Linked DNA regions of Homo sapiens: region 2 is linked to region 1. Evidence: promoter capture Hi-C in 16 types of primary human blood cells and fetal thymus (Javierre and others, 2016). All regions are on one chromosome and are shown on one strand. Each heading gives the region's core, a stretch centred on a gene start or on the middle of the fragment in contact. The rest is flanking DNA. Distances are from core to core; before and after follow the strand shown.

What was found. The method cuts DNA at HindIII sites, captures the fragments that hold promoters and counts their contacts. A CHiCAGO score of 5 or more calls a contact.
Region 2: a fragment that was not itself captured here is called in contact with the fragment with the promoter of SAMSN1-AS1 in region 1 in 7 of 17 cell types (activated CD4 T cells, total CD4 T cells, neutrophils and 4 more); the score reaches 9.4 in activated CD4 T cells.

The regions. Positions count from the first base shown.
Region 1 is chr21:14,580,625-14,583,803 of GRCh38, forward strand. It overlaps SAMSN1-AS1 (SAMSN1 antisense RNA 1), which reads left to right and starts at 1,578. Exons shown (of 5, transcript NR_046512.2): 1 at 1,578-1,667. It also overlaps a transcript of SAMSN1 not described here. The HindIII fragment of the contact is 2,204 bases long and covers 1-1,670 here.
Region 2 is chr21:14,702,608-14,706,251 of GRCh38, forward strand. No RefSeq gene overlaps it. Among named protein-coding and RNA genes, the nearest start is that of SAMSN1-AS1, 120 kb to the left of the region's middle. The HindIII fragment of the contact is 1,872 bases long and covers 570-2,441 here.

The DNA of each region.
Region 1 (3,179 bases), core at 328-2,827:
TCAGTTCGAAGTCTGTTATCAGATACCTGTTATATTTACTATGGCACTTTGAACACAAGTTACTTTAATTCTAGTCTTTGCAGACTTAATGCACAAATCTTAAAAGGCAAAAAAAGTTCCAAGAGAAAATATGCCTTTTAAGAGACCTCTAAATATGTTATAAAATGTAGCTTCTGTCTAAGAAGAGACTGATTCTTTGAGGAAAATGGTAGAGAGTAGGCTCCCTGGATACACAGAATTGTCCCATTCATTCACTGAAAACACACATGACCAGAGGAGCTGTAGGTAAAGTTATAAAACATGCCTTGAGCAATTTACAAGGAAATTGAAAAAAAAGTACCACTCTTAAGTACTAGAAGATTTATAATATTTGACTTTAGCTTCTTGACTATTTCCATTTTTTAGTTAAGAAAGTTAAGATTAAAAGGTTTAAATAACTTATCCAAGCCCAAAAAAAAAGTAGCACAGCCAGAATCCATCCAAATTTGTTTGACTCCAGAGAGCATACTCTTTCTCACGTATCACATAATAGCCTTAGAGTCTGCCCTCGTATATGGAAAACACTCTAATGTAGTAGCTAAAAGCAGGAGCTCTAGCTAAAAGCAAGACCTAGGTTATAGGTCTTGGCTCTACCTCCTGTTAGCTGTCTGACTTTGCACCTGTTACCAACTTTTTGTGCCTCCATTTTCTCAACTGTAAAATGAGGGGAAATAATATTTCTTTTTTTTTTTTTTTTTTTTTTTTTTTTTTTTGAGGACGAGTCTTGCTCAGTCGCCCAGGCTGGAGGGCAGTGGCGCGATCTCGGCTCACTGCAAGCTCCACCTCCTGGGTTCACGCCATTCTTCCGCCTCAGCCTCCCGAGTAGCTGGAACTACAGGTGCCCGCCACCACGCCCGGCTAATTTTTTTGTATTTTTAGTAGAGACGGGGTTTCACCTTGTTAGCCAGGATGGTCTCGATCTCCTGACCTCATGATCCTCCCGCCTCGGCCTCCCAAAAGTGCTGGGATTACAGGCATGAGCCACCGTGCCTGGCCAAAAATAATATTTCTTAAGGTAATATTTCATAATGTAAGTCCTTACCTTATAGAGTTGATGTGAGATTTAAATGAGATAATACATATAAAATGCTTAGGAAAATGGCAGGCCCAAATAAAATGCTCATTAAAATTAGCTATTATTTTTCAGTGAAATTTCATTATAATTGCAATAATTTAGACAGTTCACTTCACATTTTCTTGATCTCAGTCAACACACGAAGTCTTCCTTCAATCAAAAAGAAATCCCTGGAAAAATTTTATGCAGTCATTAATTTGTACACAAAGGAATATATGAAATGTTAATATGGGTAAAAGTCACAAGAGTTTGGTTGCTTTTTGGAAAGACAACTCTTGCTCTGGTAACTTTTCTGAAACTGATAAATTTCACTGATTAGCACTTTTGCTATCTGTTTCTTTCCCGACAGTACAAAACCCCAGATAAGATGACACATTTCCGTAGTCTGCAAACTTACCCATGAATGTAGGAGATCCATATCTGAGCAGGAAGACTTGAGACGTGTGTGGCGAATACAAGAGGAGCAGTGGTCCCAGGGTCCAACTTGTGCTATTTGGAAATCAAGACATGTCCAGAGAGGGTTTTCAGGAAAAGGCTTCCAGTGATGCCACATGTAAGCTTCACCTTCATACCAAGCTAATTTATCTTCCAAGTTGCAGTTATTTAAAGTGCTGGATCTACCCAGTGATGCAGAAAGAGTATCCAATCTAATCTCCATTTCTTCCTTCCTCCTCGTGCTAACACTATTCACTTTCTTTTCTCGGGACTTGGTTAATTTCAAACAAGAAATCAACGTGTCATCTTCATCTTCTGAATGACAAAGAAATAGGTTAAAAACTATGATTATAATTCTTCACATATAGGAATTATTCTTCCATTTATATAAGAGAAATAAATACACTGCAATGGATAAACCAAGAAGTCATTCAATTTTATAAAATTATTTACAGCAGCATTTATTTAAAAAGCAAGTTATTTTGCTATATAAAATTTTTTGTTTTGTAAAAGTCGCATTTTTCTGACATTTTTGAAACCATAACAATTGATTAAATTCTATCTCACTGGAAAGAATGGAGGCCACATACAAATAATATGCTGAAAGATATTTGAGAAAAAAATACAATTAAAAAACCCACCTCTTATGTTTCTATTCTTAAATATTTTTTTAATTTTTAAGGTCATGTGTATAATAAAGAATTATAAGGAAATAAATAAAATTATTTGCCCTACTTAAAAGAATAAAATCTCAGTGGTTTGGACTGAAATCCTACTGACATTCTGAAATTGTCTATTTTAATATCAATCTACCAAGAGATGTATGGATGCAGTGTGTCTCACAGTGAAATGGTTTTCAAAAAACAAGAACGACAAAAATTTAAAAAAGCCATATCTGTAATACCATAAAGTTCATTTGTGAGATCTATATTTACACAATGTGGCAAAGACTCTGATGAAATTTCTAGTAATGTAGAAAACAGTTACAGAAAATAGAAATATATATCACCCAGAGTCAATTGCTCTATGTCATGGAATCCCTTTAAATCCAAACGTTTAATGGGTATTTTTAAAAGAGTTCGATTACTTAAGGCATGCTATTATAAATAAATAAATGAAAATCAAAGTTGCATGCCATGGACATACCAATTTGTTATGCTTACATCAAAATTCAAATACATTGTTTTCTATGGCCAAGGAATGGCGACAGTGGACACTGCTGAGCTTCCTCCATTGCTCTCTCTCACTGTGTCTCGGAGCCCGGTCTTGAAGGCAAGGAGAAACGGGGCGGTGCATAAATACGGGGTAAAATTCAGGAACAGATGGGGATGTCTGTTTTAAAATAACTTGGCAATAAAAAAAAATCCTCAATGTTTAATGATTATCTTAAGACTTTATCAAAATGGGCTTCATTAACGTATGCTTCCTTAGTTCTCCCTCAAAGGAGTTTTAACAGCTTATTGAGTTCTTACTTACGGAGGTTTATTAATGTCGGTTTCACCTCATCCAGATTCTGCACTCTGGCTTTCTTAGTCCAAACCAGTTTCTGTAGTCGCTTTAATGTCCCCATTGATTCCACAGGGTCACTGCCTGATTTTATGGCCTAGCACAAACACAGCTCAAGGTAAAG
Region 2 (3,644 bases), core at 256-2,755, 120 kb after region 1:
TGTCCAAAGTGCCAATGTTTTGTAAAATTTTAGTCTTTCATTAAAAATAAACCACTATTTTTTATGCAAGAAGGGACAATGATAAATATAGCCAGAGGCAATCTTTTAATTGTACCTTAAGTGTTCTGTCACCTATCCCTAATGTCTTCACTTCAGCTTTACACCTTGGATTCTATTCAACCAGATGCATTTTTTCTTCTAATTATAATCAAGATGTGTCTACATGAAGTGGAAAATGTGAACAATTATTTAGATTGTTCAAAAAAAAAATAAAAGCACATTTCAACTGAAAACATGCCAGTAATTGGAGTAGAATGAAGTATTTTTGAGATGAGAATTCTTTGAATCTTACATTTGTAAATAGTTTCTCTTCATTTTAAATTTCTTATAGTTTGTGGCTTTGTGGATCTGGCTACAGACCTTTTTAAAGTCATCGGGAGGGCATTTTTGCTTACAAACATAGCAAGTTATCTATGCCTTTAAACCTCTACTCTCAGAAAAGAGAAGGTTTCTGAGAATGCATGGCAAGTATGCTTTACATACCTTGTTGGCAATGTTCACAGAAATAAAGCTTTGGTCAAAGGAACCAGTTTCTCTTTGGCATACAGATGAATGACATTCAGAGGCATCCTTTACATAAGAAGACATAAAATTTTCTGTACCTGACAATCCCCCAAATTACCGCCCTTGTGTCTCATTCCTTCAGAACCCTGTGGGGGTGATCCATTTCTTAACTTCTGGTCCTCTTATTCCACACTTCCTGGTGTTCTGTTTTAGACCAGTGTTTGCAGTGTAATATCCACCTAGTACTTGTTAGAAATATGGAGTGTTGGGTCCCATCTCAAACCTACCAAATCAAAACCTGTATTTTAATAAGATCATCAGATATTTGTGAGGACATTAGCATTTGAGAATCTTGGGATTAGATCTCAGTAAGCCATAATGTGACCGACTGTCTGCTAATTAAACCACACTCATACTGGATATTCAGCAAAGGGCCTCCTCATACTCATGTAGGTTTCTGTATTCTCGATGAGACTTGACCTCATCTTTCCCAACTCTTCATTTTCACTAAAGAGCCCAGCAATATCTTCAGTGTCTTCTCCCGACACAGGCAACTTCTTACCACAAATGCAAGGTTCTACTACAATGGTGAGAATTTTTAGACACCAGAAAGAACAGGGGCAGGAAAGGGTTTTTTGTTTGTTTGTCTGTTTGCTTTTGAGATGGAGTCTCTCTCTGTCGCCCAGGCTGGAGTGCAGTGATGCGATCTCTGCTCACTGCAACCTCCGTCTCCCAGGTTCACGCCATTCTCCTGCCTCAGCCTCCCGAGTAGCTGGGACTACAGGCGTCCACCACCATGCCCGGCTAATTTTTTGTATTTTTAGTACAGACTTGGGCTTTCACTGTGTTAGCCAGAATGGTCTCGATCTCCTGACCTCGTGATCCACCTGCCTCGACCTCCCAATGTGCTGGGATTGCAGGTGTGAGCCACCGCGCCCAGCCAGGAAAGGGTTTTTAATTTGCTCTCTAAACCATGTGATGTAGGCAGCAATTCACCCTATCCACATGTGAGGAATGTGTTGTTTATATCCACTTTCCTTATAGAGGAAATAAATTGGTCATAACTCATGGGCAATTCTCTTATATTGTAGACCAGTCTTAACAGTACTTTTCAGAATCATTTCTCTGCACAGACTTTAATGAAGACTAGCCTGCGTTTCTCCATGTTGATTCTGAAATGCTCAATAGAATTCTTCTCTAGGTTCTTAGCCCAAACATACTTTTGATGTACAGAAGACTACTAACTATTTCTACTTTATGAACATGACAAGTAATTATTTATTAAAGTAGTGAAAATAATTCTGTCAAGAACAATTCATTCTCACTTTGCCCAAGCTGAATGAATATAGATAAGTCTATGGCGGTCCCCTGCATCCTTACACCTGAATACTTCCTGAAAATATTTTCTCTCTTCTTCGTTAGGGAAAAAAATATTCAATGGACACTTTTTAAAAATGGTAAAGCCGATTTTATTCAGAGGGAGACTGTTTTGATAGGTGTAGGGCTCATTGGAATGGGCCTTTGCAATGGGGGGAGAGATTTGGCTCAACTCTAAATATAACAAGAAAAAGTGGGAATTTATAGCCAAAGATTAAGATGGAGGCCAGTACATAGAAAATTACTGAAAGAAAACATAAGGGTAAAGAGGAAGTTCTGGCTAAACCAACCACACAGGATCCTTCCTGAAGACAGGCTAGGATGTTCAGACACCACCTTGGGGAGGGTGAAGGATAAAGAATTTGATCAGAAATCAAGGGTGGTGAGATACATGTTAAGGATGAATAAACTGGCCTTTTAGGATTCTTGCTAAAGTTAGACAATGCAGAGGCAACCACAGAGTCCAAGAGTTAAGGCCTAGTTGAAAAAGAGTTGAGAGAAGCTTGAGTAATGTTTGAACGAGGAGATAATCTCTGTTATTTCTCCCTCTCCATTGTCATAGTCTGAGTTGTAATATAGACTATTACAATAGTCTCCTCATTGGTCACTCAGACTCTGGTTATAGTCTTTCTTCACTCATCACACTGTCGAAAATATACATCTAACTATGTCATACTCTATTCAGAATTATTCAATGTCTCTCACATTGTCCCCACAATGATACACAGGCTCCTCCTTAGGAAGCCATGCAAGGGTTTGCTTGGTGAGGTCATTGCCTTCTTGCTCAGTCTCATAGTCCCTTCCTAGTCTTTCTCCAGAAATAAGTTACTTTATAAGCTCTACTATGCCTTGATTCTTTTGTCTAGGATATTCTCAAACTTTCCTGCCTTTAAATACTACTCATTCATTAAGTTTCAATTCAAACATTGCTTCTGTGAAGTTATTCTTAGTGTACTCCAGAAAAGTTAAATTATCTTCCTACATTTCTGTTGGACTTTACATATCCCTTTACTATAGCATATATTTTTGTAACTGTCAATGAACTAGACTTTCAATATTCTGAGGGCAACAAAAAATGTTTTCCCCTTAATTCCAATTTTCTGGCAAAAGGGAGAATATAAAAGTTCAATAAATATTACAGATTGACTGAATAAAATGCATTTAGGTAATAATTCATTTGGATGAAGATAATAGATTCTTAGAGATTGGGAAATGGGAATTGAAATACCAAATTTCTATCTACAAATATGTATTCAACAAGTATATACAGTGGCACATAGAGAACTCTACACTTGATGCTGGATAGGACATATAAATTCATTCAACACGTACTTATTTAGCGTTTACTTCACATCAGCACTATTCTGGGTATTTCAGAAACATTGCTGAAAGATATAATTTCTATCCTAAATGACTGCATGGAATTGAACTCAAGACTTCGTTTGTCATAATCTGGCCAACTCTCTCTTAATTCAAATTATCTGAATTCAAATTAAGAATATAAGAGAGGACTCTTTCAATTCATTTACCTTTTAGCAGCATAGTATAATGCTTCTCAAACTTCAGTGTGCATATGGATGCAGATTCTGATTTAGAGGCCCTCAAGTGATGCCCATGCTACTGGTCTATAAGCCACAATTTTATTACCAAGGGTTTAAGGTTCAATAACAAAGCCGACCCTTCCTAGGAATGAACCTCCCTTA